3 separate regions of the Homo sapiens genome follow, and all the other regions are linked to region 1. The links are contacts of gene promoters, found by promoter capture Hi-C in human tissues and cell types (Jung and others, 2019). All regions are on one chromosome and are shown on one strand. Each heading gives the region's core, a stretch centred on a gene start or on the middle of the fragment in contact. The rest is flanking DNA. Distances are from core to core; before and after follow the strand shown.

The links. Contacts are between HindIII fragments. The study calls those that stand out against the background at their distance.
Region 2: a contact is called between a fragment that was not itself captured here and the fragment with the promoter of TECTA in region 1, in 1 of the 25 tissues and cell types used here (dorsolateral prefrontal cortex).
Region 3: a fragment that was not itself captured here is called in contact with the fragment with the promoter of TECTA in region 1 in 1 of the 25 tissues and cell types used here (H1 embryonic stem cells).

What each region holds. Positions count from the first base shown.
Region 1 is chr11:121,099,548-121,103,671 of GRCh38, forward strand. TECTA (tectorin alpha) reads left to right here and starts at 1,696. Exons shown (of 24, transcript NM_005422.4): 1 at 1,696-1,895; 2 at 3,118-3,182. The coding sequence starts at 3,119. It overlaps TBCEL-TECTA (TBCEL-TECTA readthrough), which reads left to right. Exons shown (of 30, transcript NM_001378761.1): 8 at 3,118-3,182. The HindIII fragment of the contact is 17,013 bases long and covers 1-4,124 here.
Region 2 is chr11:120,631,877-120,636,000 of GRCh38, forward strand. The region is part of intron 1 of GRIK4 (glutamate ionotropic receptor kainate type subunit 4); the gene reads left to right. Among named protein-coding and RNA genes, the nearest start is that of GRIK4, 120 kb to the left of the region's middle. RefSeq lists an enhancer at 2,062-3,041. The HindIII fragment of the contact is 5,851 bases long and covers 1-4,124 here.
Region 3 is chr11:120,676,421-120,680,544 of GRCh38, forward strand. All of the region lies in intron 3 of GRIK4 (glutamate ionotropic receptor kainate type subunit 4), which reads left to right. Among named protein-coding and RNA genes, the nearest start is that of GRIK4, 170 kb to the left of the region's middle. The HindIII fragment of the contact is 4,409 bases long and covers 1-4,124 here.

The DNA of each region.
Region 1 (4,124 bases), core at 446-2,945:
TCCTCCTGCTGACACAGCATGAAAAGACATTTTTGTCATTTGTCAATCTGTGACCACTGGGTGTACACCAGAACACACACTCACTGACCAGCTTCCCAAAGTGATAAGCCAGCCTGGTGTCTCCCCACGCACCTGGTGTTCCCTTGCAGCCGGATTCTCAAAGGCATTCTAATTCATGTATGCCACCATCTTGTGTATCTGGTTATGCCCAGATGGCATTTATCCGGGCAGCAGTCCTGTCTCAAGAAGGATGGAGCATCCAACATGGGTCAAAAGGGCTGTGATATAAATATCCTAGAATGCATGAAAAAGGAAGAAAGCAATTAGTATGCCACCAGCAGTTAATTAAAACACAGCCAGCGATTTTGCTTCAAGACATTTAGGTTGGCTACTGGACTAAAACCTAAGGCTGGACAAAGAGAATCCTTCTGTAATGAGTCTTTGATTTGAACTTAATTTTATTTTAAATAGGCACCCAAGAAACTAGCTTTTCTGTTATATAAATATACGCCATTCTAAGCACTCCTAGAATCCAAAGAAAAACAAATAAATGTGAGTCATTTGGAAAGAAGCAGTCATTTAACATCTGTAAGTAAATATGTGTGGAGGATTCATAATACCAGTGAGAGAATAAACAATGTGGGAAACCTACTGAATTATCACAGGTTTTTGGAAAAACACGGAGTAATTTAAACTAAAAAAATTTAGCTCGCCAAGCACTCTTGTCCATTTTAAGACAACATGCTTAAACCCAGAATTATATTTCTTTTGTACAGTTGGCATTTAAATGTCTGGTCAGAGAAAATTTGCAGTAATTTTTAAATTCCCATTGATGTGCAGAAGAGTTTTTTTTTCCTGCTACAGTCAAGTTACTTCTTTCTTAATAAATTCCATTTAAACATTTTGAATAGTAGATTTAGCTTATGCCTTAGCCAGTTTTGCTCATTCCACATCTACTGGATGCTTGGAAGCATCTAACCGAGCACGTTTTCCTCTTATTCACATGCCTTTTAAACTATTTACTTACTGCAAATTTTTTATCAGAAGGGGTTTATCTCCCCCCTCTGCCTCCAGTGACCCTCACTGGGTGTTAGGGAAGGTTTCCAGGCCACAGTTTGAGATTTCCCTTGTGGAAGATCGTGTCTAGCGCTAGGTCCCTTGTTAGATTTTGCCTGGAAAGTGCCCTGTCCTATCTCCTGCAGAGCGGTGCATCAGAGAGAAAAGAGAGGGCATAAAACCTAAAAAGTTTGGAAATTTTCTTTAAATACTTCATGCATACCTGTGAAAAAATAGAGTAGAGCCTATCTGTGGCGACTGTTGAAAACCAGAGAAACAAAAAAAGACTTTAATAGAAAACCAACTTCATTTAAATGTTGGAGGCAGCTGCTTTGTTTGGAGTTTTAATCCCATGCTGGTGGATGCTAATTCTGTAACATTATACAGTTGCCTTCTTTTGGGTACAAAGGTAGAAGGGGGGTTTTCTTTTGTGTTTTTCAGTGCAAAGTGATTCTGATCAGAAAGGCCCAAGGTTTCAGCTCCAAGTACCTGACATTTCCATCTGAATCTACTTTTTTTTTCAAAGGGGAAAAAAAAAGGTCTAGTTTTTCAGGAAAAGAACCTCTCTACGCAATCCTGAAACTGATCTTTAGATTTACTTTTCCTTAATCAATAGAAAAAAACTTGATTGCAGCTCAACACTTACCTGTCTCTAGTGCAGGACTAACTTAATTTTTGGTTTTAAGAGTACGAGATTCAGACATTATTTCAGGAATCAGAAATTATTGGCAACAAGTTGAGGAGAACTGACATGAATTCTTGTTTTACCTAATTTTTTCTGGCTTACCAAGATTTGGCTTAATATTTCTGACTCAGTTCCTCCAGCCTCTACAGAACAGGTTAGTGACATTTTTCATAAATACAAATATCTAAATGAATCCTCCTTACTTCTCTCTGAACCGGTTCCCTAAGGGCTCTAGTCTTAAACTTGCACGGCATCTTCTCCATTAAAGCTGTGTGTGATCTCTGCTAAACCTTTGTACCCTTTCCAGCAAAACTGTCTAATATTTAATATGTGCTTGAAATTACAACATATATACTTGACAACTAAAGATTTGCAATAAAACTCTCACAGGATAAATTCATTGCCTTTCCCGTGAAAGTTTGGCTGAAGAATTGTGATAACTTCAAATGATAAGAGGAAGGTTTTTCTTTTTTAAGAATACTGTCAGGAGGAGACTTCATGGTCTAGCCACACGCTTGGGTGATGTCTAACTTGAGCTTGCGTCCGTGTTCTCATCGCAGCTTTGCAGAGTGACACAGACAAAACATGCTCCTGATGGAGGGTAAAGCCACCATGCAACCGATTGTAAACTAACACGAAAACAAGTTTCTCTTTGCTGTGTTCCTTCTTTAATTAACTTGCTGGAACTAATTGGTTGCTTGTGCGCTGGATTCTATTTTTATTGTGATTCCAACTCTGGATTGGTCCTTTTTTATTACTAATGTTTCTATCATTCATTTCACTGTGGGAAGTCAGTGAACAGAGTAGACTGGCCCTGAATCTGGTCAATACTTCAAAATGATGGATCGGCTCCATTCTATGGAGAAGGTGATGGCAGACTCTAAATTCTCCTAGCTGTAGAACACATTGTGTTTTAACCAACTTTTGTTTGATTCTGATGGAAAGCTGTAGTGAAAATTAGGAAATCCAGGTCTCACTGGGGTGTGGTTTCTGCTGCAGAGACACAACCCGGGACCTGCATGCATCTTTAGCGTTGGGTCCTAGTTTTCAGCGCTTTATTTGATGCAGAGGGGATACCTTTCCTTTACGCATACCACTCTCACTGATCCTAAATAATTACTTGACAGTTTGAATGATCTCATTACACTTCCAGACTGGCTTCTTCTGGGCATCTAATTTGTTCATGAAGTGTTGAACTTCGGAGGACCTGCCAGCATTCAGGGGATTTCAGCCCGACTCAGCACTGTTGATGTTGTTATGTGAATTTGTTCTATGACGGTTTTGATGGTCTTGGGATTAGCCACTAAACACACCTGGTGTTCTGTTTACTCTGGCAAGCTGGGGATTTTTTTTTCATTTTCTTTTTAAAATTCCAGGATGAATTATTCATCATTCCTTAGAATTTGGGTCTCTTTCATCTTCGCACTTGTACAGCACCAAGGTGAGTACTACAGAATTCCATAAAGCTCTCAGTTAGCATGCTCTTGAATTGATAAAGAGACACTTTTATTGGAACCACAATTGTAAGGGCAGGTGCATGTGTGTCTACAGATACAAGAGAAAAATGTAATTAAATTCTATTATCAAGGGTAAAATTCATTAACTTTAAATGAGGTTTACTTATATTCCCACTTTTTTCTTATTTAACTTCAAATACTATTTGTATGTACCAGCTTGCCCTGTGCTAGTGGAGTAGATCTTTAAAATTACGCAAAATTATTTCCATTAAAAGTAGATAAGATAGGGGTATGTGCACTTCATGTCTGATCACTGATTTCCATTAAGGCATTTAATTTGTGGTGGAGACTTTAAAGAATCTACTTATTTCGGCCAAAAACTAGGAAATTACAATAGCATTGATGTCAGTGGTTTGTGTATCAGTGACCTTTTACGTGGCCCTCAAATCTAAAACTTAAATAAGACAATTTTTCCCCTCAGTGATTCCTTCTTTTTCTCTGTGTAGCACTGCCCTGGGTAAGTGAAAGGCCACATATGTCTTTTTTCTACTGTTGTTTTGGATTTTAGACAAAGACGGGGCGGTCTACGTAGATTTTAACTTTTTATGGCTAAAATTCTAAGGCACCTTTCTTTACCTTGCGAGTTTGTCTAGTTCAAGTGGCACATGAGTACAAGTCTGAGATGAACACGTCAAGCCCCTGTGCAGTGCTAATATTTTTCCAGAATTGGTGAATTTAAGCAGTTAAACCATAGTGTGAAACCCCACGGGAATGAAAGAGGGCCCTTGACTTCAACCTCCTACCCCAGCTCCAAGAAAGTACATTTTATTTGGTGGGAAAAAAAAAATCCTGGAAACATAGCTATGTTTATTGTGAAATTCTCAGCTTAGGGCAAGCATGGATAGGGATATTCTTTCTTTTAGCAA
Region 2 (4,124 bases), core at 779-3,278, 470 kb before region 1:
AGCCTTGGAGCTTGGTGGGGTGGGGATGAGAACACCAACTTGGAGTCAGGTGATCCCAGGTTTGAAGTCCAGCATGATCATATACTGTTGAGCAGTCAGGGGCAAGCTCCTTACCCCTTCCAAGCTTCCTCATCTGGAAATGAATGGCAGTACCCACTGCTGTGGACTGAATGTTTGTGTCCCCTTGAAATTCGTGTGTTGAATCCTAGCCCCCAGTGTGATGGTATTAAGAAGTGAGCCTTTGGGAGGTCATAGGCGTGGAGGCCTCATGAATGGGATGTGTGCCCTTGTATAAGAGACCCCAGAGAGCTTGCTCTCTCTTTCCACCATGTGAAGATACAAGAAGCTGGCCATCTGCAACCTGGAAGACAGCCTTCACCAGAACCTGACCATGTCGCACCTTGATCTCAGACCTCTAGCCTTCAGAACGGTGAGAAATAAATTTCTATGGTTTATAAACCACCTCAAACTACGACATCCACCTCATAGATTTATAAGGCTGAATTGAGATAATGAGTAAAGAACGTAGCTCAGGGTGGGGTTCTGCTTCCATGCTCCGTGTCCCCTTCTCCTCCTCTCTTTCTTCTCCTTGTCCTGTATTGTCAGGCTGGACCCTGCTCACTTAGAACCCGAGGGTCTCACTGTGCTTCCCGTTTCCAGGTTAGCTCCAGGTATGAGATATAGAAGTCTAACACTTGTCCCCGTTTGTCCCAGCCACCTTCTTCCTGCTCTTGCAGCTCCATTTATCTTGCTGAAAACTTGGCTCTTCCAGGAATAGCACTCAACTCACACCACCCAGCATGTCCTGGGAATGGGTAGAAGAGCACCCCCAGAACTGAGGGTTCCTGATTCTGAGGATCTCCTGCAACCCCTTGCACTACCACCAGCATCCCCCAGAGGCTTCTGTGTGCTCAGAGTTGATAAGCCCTTCTCCACCACTGGGGAGACTGGAGTGTGCTTCTCTGCTGTAGAGGAACACCCAGCTTGGGGCCATTGACACTATGACCTTGTTACTAGCTCACGTCTTAACCCACCTTGGAGTTCACAGGTCGTTTCCTTTGGCCCTCACAAATAAGCCATGAGATGGGCTGGTTCTATCATCAGCCATTTAACAGATGAGGAAACTTAGAAGGCACATGGTTCACCCAGGCACACAAACAGATGATGGCACCTTGGTCATCTGATCCTAAGTTCAGTGCCCTTTGCCTTGGGTGGCAGCTGCCCACAGAGCCACCAGCGCCATGCAGAAGAGTAGAGTCAACCAAGAACATTATATGTTCAGTGACAGTGAGTTCAGAGTCTTCTTGGCCTGGAGCTTCGTTTAAGATGAAGTGCCAATGGCAAGGTAATTATCATTTTGGGCATATTTAAAGTACTTAAATGGCCATGTCAGGCTTTCAGAGCCCTGTAAATCAGAGACACAGTGAGTGCAGGGCCAGGCCTCATAGGACTCCCAGGCCTTCTCGATGGGGAGCGGAGAGAGCCATTTCCTGGGATAAAGAGGACTCTCTGCAGACGCTGGCCCCTCTTAATCGCTGCCCATGCCTTGTTCTGTGCACGTGAGCACATGTGTGTGCTCGCATGCACCTGCTTTGAAAGCCTTTGACTTAGACATTGTCAGGACGTTGCTCTGTGTCTGAAGCTAGGCTGCCATATCTGCTATTGATGGTGTTTAATTAGGGACCGGGGAAGCTTTTAACTTTTATTGTTTATTAATAAAGATAAATTTGAAGCATCAAAAGTGTACTGAGTTGGCTTTTTTAAGTAAAGAGGGAAATGAAAGCCACAGGTCCCCTCAAATGAAAGGGGATGGGCTGTGTTAGCATTAGAAGGCCCCTGAGCAGGGAGAGGCTGGGAGGGGAAGGGAGAGTTTCTCTGTCTCCCTGCTGCTACTGTGGGGGTTTGCTGGGGAGAACCAAGCATAGGCAGAAGGGAAGTGTGGCTGGGCATGGAGATTTTTTGAGATAAGGGCCCTGCTTGCGGCACATCTCCCAGTGGGATGTGTGAAAGACGATTGCAAACCTCTGAGCTGATGCAAACTGAAGATCTGTGAGCACGGGGGTGGGAGAAGGGCTCTTGGGGAGAGAGAGCACAGCGATTAGTAGGACAGAACTTGGAGGTGGCCAAACGTAGGTTCAAATCCTGTTGTTTCCGCTTATGAGCAGTGTAACGTTAGAGCAGCGGCTGCACCTTTCTGAACCTCATTTCTAAAATGGGGCTCTTTAGACCTGCCTTCCAGTGTGTGTGCAGATTAAGCACGATAATATATGTAAAGTGCTTGGCGTCCTGCCTGACAAGTTGTAAGCCGCCGAATAAATGGCAAGAGGGGGCCTCTGGTGCCCTGTGTTTCCTGACGCACTCTCTCTGTCACTCTAGCCTTGTTAGAGTGTTAGTTGTTGAACATGACAGCTAACGTGTGCTGAGACCCTACTCAGTGCCAGGGCTATGCCTGAAGTTCTGCAGCAAACAGGAGGCGGAGCTGGCATTCAAACCCAGCTTTCCCCATTCCAAAGCTTCTCCCACACCACCCCGCCACCATCCCGTGGTGCCATTTCCCAGGTTGAAAGTTCTCTGCTTGTAACACAGAGTTCCCTCCTCCCCCAAGGGTTCTGCAGCTTCTGCCAGGGCCTCGCCTTGGCCTTTCTGGAAGGAGCCCTCCCAGACACCAAAGACTCTCCCAGCCTGCCGGCCTGCCTACCCCAGACTCTTCAGAGAGACTCTGTTCCTCTAGGGACCCACTCGGAATTGAGTCTGTCAGATGGGAGACTTGTTGCTCTGTCTGGAAACCCCAGTGATCTGGAGACAGCAGATTTGGGAGCTGAAAAGAGACAGAGAACGGAGTCCGGAGACAGTGGGAGGTTCCTTGTGGGAGTTCTCAAGAGACCCTCGTGGGCAGGAGGGGGCGATTCACCTTGCCAGGGCTTCCCTTCCTCCTCTCTGCCAATCTTCGTGCCCAGCTCACGGAGTCGCCAAGCATGTGACCTGCCTGCTACTTGACTTGAGCAGGTGGCCAGACTGAGCATCCGCCATCTCTAGGGAAAGCGAGATGCGAACGTCCCCCTTGCACCTCAGTTGAGCTTCGCCTTGGCAGCTGGGGAGCAAAGCCTGGGAGAAGACAGACCAGGGAGGCCAGAGGACCTTGAGCAGCTATGGGGCTTGTTTCTTGCCTTCTTTCCGTTTTCCAGACAGAGGAGATAGGAGGGCAGCTGAGTGTGGCCCAGGATTCCCAGCTGAAACTTCATATTACGGTCCCTGCAAAGGGTCGGGTTCCTTCTCTGCCTGCCATGAACTCTTGTCAGAGATCATCTTGGGTTAGGAACCAAGCACATCCCACCCCAACCCCTTCCCCACTCAGAAGGGGACAGATGTTTGAATAATTCTTGGAAACATGCTGCAACCACCCAAGGTGCACTGAGTCAGCTATGCAAATTGAGAGGCGTAGGTCAGAGTCCTGTGTGTATTTTGAAGTTGCAAATTCCCTGGCAAGCCTTGCACTGCACCCTGAGTCCTGCGTGCCGCAGTCACCCAGGGCCTTCCTGACATTCAGGGAGCTCAGGGGTGTTGGAGAGTGCCCCCAGCCCCACCCCATAGCTCTCCTTGCTCCTGCTCCGGATGCCTGGTGATAGTTACTATTTTGAGTTAAAGCGATTCTGCTTTATTAAAAAGGAAGTCCCCCAGGGAGGGGTAGTACTGTTGAACCGCTATCAGTCATGGACAATTTAGTACCAATTAATTAATCGGATGCTTTCCTGTTGCCTGCAGAGTGAATGGGGTGTGATGAGTGTTTGGAAAGGGCATGAGGTCACCAGGTGATTCAGGAGAGATAGCAAAGGAGCAAGCCAAGGGCGTACAGGATAAGCATGCCCTGTGGTTGCCAGCTTATCTCATTTGTCTTAAAAATTATTTTAGTAAACATTTTCACAAAATTATATCAATCATCCCCAAAATGCACAAATCATAAGTGTATGGCTTTGAATTTTTAGGAAGTGTACACACCCTTATAGCCAGCACCTGGGCTGTGAAACAGTTACTAGTTGCTCCTCTCAGACCCCCAGCCAGCCACTGTGACCCCCAAGGCATCCGCTATCCTGACTTCCATAGATAACGTTTTGCCTCTTTTCAAA
Region 3 (4,124 bases), core at 864-3,363, 420 kb before region 1:
GGTTTATTTAGCTCATAGTTCTGCAGGCTGGGAAGCTCCAGGGCGTGGCCCTGGCTTCTGGTGAGAGCTTTCGTACTGCATCACAACATGGCAGAGAAGATCAAAAGGGGAGGCAGATATGTGCAAAGAGGGAAAAACCTGACGGGTGTCTTGACTTTCTAACAACCCACACTCTCTTGGGAAGGAATCCATTCCTGCAATAAATAGTCCTGTCGCTTGAGAGCAAGAACTCACTCACTGCAGAACAGCACCAAGCCATTCATGAGGAATCCACCCCCACAACCCAAACACCTCCTACCGGGCCCCACTTCCCAGCACTGCCACATTAGGGATAAAATTTCAACATGAGTTTGATGGGGACAAACAAACCATGTCCAAACCATAGCACCATGGAAGGTAATGCATTTGCAGGGACTGGGTTTTAGGATGTGGGCATCTTTGGGGGCCATTATTCTTTCTACAACAACTGTTCTTGTAATGTGGGAGGCTAAGCCGCTGGAAAACCTTCTCATGAGCAGTTCCATGTGCAGGGACTGCACACTTGGAAACTGTCCATAGCTCGATCCTTGGCCCAAGTTGCCTTACTCCTGTGATCATCAACCATTTTGCATAAGAACCAGGCATCCCAGAGCACCGAAGCTGATGTGTTTTTTTCAATGGACAGAGGGAACTGGACATGTTGGCTCTTCCATTACTGCAACTGAGATTATGCCACCAGGGAAGAGACAGCTGGGAAGGGGCTGTGTAACAGGAAGTATTTTATCACGTTGATTTAGTAATCTCGCCACTCCTAACATGTCAGGGCACTAAAGGAGTAGCCTGAGAGCTGAGTGTGATCTGAGCCTGTGTTGTGTGGGCTCCGCTGGGCTCCGCTCAGAATGATGTGTTTATTTCCTGCCATGGGGTCTAGAGAGAATAACATCCCGCCACAGTCCCAGCAGACTCTGTCTTATTCTGCCTGCCATCCTTCCAGAAGGGCACAGATCTATGTGTGCTTTAAGAAGCAATGTGATGTAGGAGAGTACTGCTATGTGTGAAGAATGAGAACACTTAGGATCTGAAGCTGGTCCTGCCTGTTCCTCTGTTCTCTGGTACTTACTTAATACTGACAATGCCCTGTTTAGGGCTCAGCTCTATGGAAAATACAAAGAAATAGGATATTTTGTTGGTACATGTTCTAAATGTGGAAAGGCCAGACTCTCAGACATGAAGGAACTAGAGGGCGATACGAAATAAGGAAGTATTAAGTGCTGAGACATCAGCTCTGGAGTTAGGCAGTGGTGACTGTGGTGGTCCAGGGACCGTGGGGACATTGCCATTTTGCGCCTCCTTTTCCCTGTTTGATATTTCTTTTGTTGCTGCCTAGAGCAGAGTAAGAGAGAGGGCAGTGGACCATCCCTTTAAGATACTGTACATCACAGGAGAGGGGATGACATTCATGTTTATTGAGCATCTACTGTGCCCATCACTTCCATAAGTTATATGATTAATTTTTATAACAACCTCCAGAGGTAGGTTTGGTAATGTCTGCTATTTGGGTGTGGAAACTGAGGTGTGGAGGGACCAAGGTCACCCATGCAGAACATGGAAGATGCTGGATTTGAGCCAGACTCCCTGGCGCCAACCCCATGCTCTATCTATTACACTAGACTCCTCCCTGCTGTGCTCCCCTCTGCAGAGACCCCGAGGCCTCTGGGCAGTGCCTGTGGCTCTGGAGGTGCAAGAGAAGGTAGGTGTGATTGAGGTCTGCCCAAGACCCATGGGACAACCTCCGTTTCTTTAGGGCAGACCCCACACCTCATCCCCCTTCTTGTCCCCACCTCTGCTGGTTTCCTTTTCAGACACTTGAGAGAGAGGAACTAACTTAAAATGGAACCACAGGGTTAGTGCTAAAGGCACCGTTAGGTTAAAATTGAGAGCTGAGGCTGTGGTGCTCAGAAGGGCCAAGTCTGCATGCTGGCTTTATTTATAGTCGCTTATTTATTAGATTCCAAATGATGTTTAACCAGGAATCATATGGCAGTGATCTTTGATTACTTATGCGGCTAATAGCTGAACATTTATTATTATTGCTATTTATTCAGCCAGCTAAGTGTACCGGGTGCTTCTCTTTCAGGAAAGCACCAAGGGAAGGGGCCAAAATAGAGGAGTGGCTTGGCTGGTGGTCCTATAGACCAGGCGAGGGGCTCCACTAGAAGGGTTTTTTTTTTTTTGTTTTAGTTTTTGTTTTTGAGACGGAGTCTTGCTCCGTCATCCAGGCTGGAGTAAAGTGGCACGATCTTGGCTCACTACAACCTCCACCCACCGGGTTCAAGCAATTCTCCTGCCCCAGCCTCCCATGTAGCTGGGATTACAGGTACGTGCCACCACACCTGGTTAATTTTTTGTATTTTTAATAGAGACAGGGTTTCACCATCTTGGCCAGGCTGGTCTCGAACTCCCGACCTTGTGATCCACATGCCTCGGCCTCCCAAAGTGCTGGGATTACAGGTATGAGCCACCACGCCTGGCCTGGTTTTTTTTTTTTGTTTGTTTGTTTTTGTTTTTGTTTTTAAAGAGCCAATCCTTAAAATAGAGGGAATAGGGGTGGGAGTGCAGAGAACACCCTAAAGGGAGAGAAGAGTTTGAGATAAGAGTTGGGACTTCTGGAGCTAGAAATATCTAGCTTTATAATAACAGCAGCATTTATTCAGTATTTATTATGTGCCAGGCAGTATGGTAAATGCTCTTCAAAATGATTAATCCTACCACCACCTCCATTTCACAGATGAAAAACCAGAGGCTCAGAGAAATTCATAACTTAGCTGGTGTTCAAATCCAAGCCCTGTCTGCCTCTGGAGAGACCACATGTCCCTTATACTGCCCTGCCCTCCGTCAGAGTCAGTGCCCTTCTTCTCTTTTGGTTAAGCTTAACTTTTTGAGTAAACAGCCCAGGAAAAGAATGGAAAACCTAGTGCCCCCGGAGCCCAGGAAAGAGTATGGAGAATGCAGCTCTTGGCTTCTCTGTTCTTTTCCCCAGTGTTTTGCAGCCCACTGGGAAGGAGCTGCCAGTGGTCCCTGGAGCATGGCCCATGCAGGGCCATCTAATACAGTCCTGGGACAGGCCACTGCATGGCAGGCAGGGTGTCTGCCTAGAGTTGTGATGGTGCAGGGAGCAGCTGGGCAGTGCCAGGCCCAGAGGCACCAAGATGGGAACCTGTAGTGTCTCCACCCTCTGGACACATGAAGAGAGCAGGGACCCTCCTGGCAGGGAGGACTTGTCTAACTGAACCTCCCCTGCCCACCTCAGACATGCTAACCTTTGGGCTCTCTCATGCCTCCCATCCTCACTCTTTCTCAGTTCTGTCTTTGCAGGAGGAAGCTCAAACTCCTTTTCAGGGCATGGGAAGCCTTCACAGGCAGGCTGCAGATGATCCAGGTGGCTTCATCTTTCAACATCGTTCCCATCCCTATCCCTACCGTAAACACTCAATACCCATGAATTCTGTACTGCAGACGCTGGAGTCCCTAGAACATCCTTGCCTCTCACATCGCTGGGCCTTTGCTGTCTCCACTGCCTAGAATACTCTTCTTCTCACCTTGCCTGCCCAGCAGAATTTTATTCACCATTCAAGGCCTTGCTTATATATGACCTCCTCCTCTGAAGGCCCTTCTCTGATGGCCCTTTCTTTTCTTGAGATAGAGTCTCACTCTGTCACCCAGGCTGGAGTGCAGTGGCGTGATCTTAGCTCATTGCAACTGCCACCTCCCAGGCTCAAGTGATTCTCCTGCCTCAGCCTCCCAAGTAGCTGGGACTACAGGTGCGCTCCAGCATGCCTGGCTAATTTTTATATTTTTAGTAGAGATGGGGTTTTGCCATGTTGGCCAGGCTGGTCTCAAGCTCCTGATCTCAGGTGATCAACCTGCCCCGGCCTCCCTAAGTGCTCCCTAAGTATTACAGACGTGAGCCACTGTGCCTGGCCCGATGGCCTTTTCTATCTCCTCTGAGAGTGGATCTTGCCCTCTCTGGGGCTCCAGTGCCACCATATGGGTGACTGCACCTCAGCCTCACCCCACATGGCGTGGTGACATGAGTTTCAGCATCAGTCTCTCAAGGCAAAGACTATGTCTCATTACCTCTGACT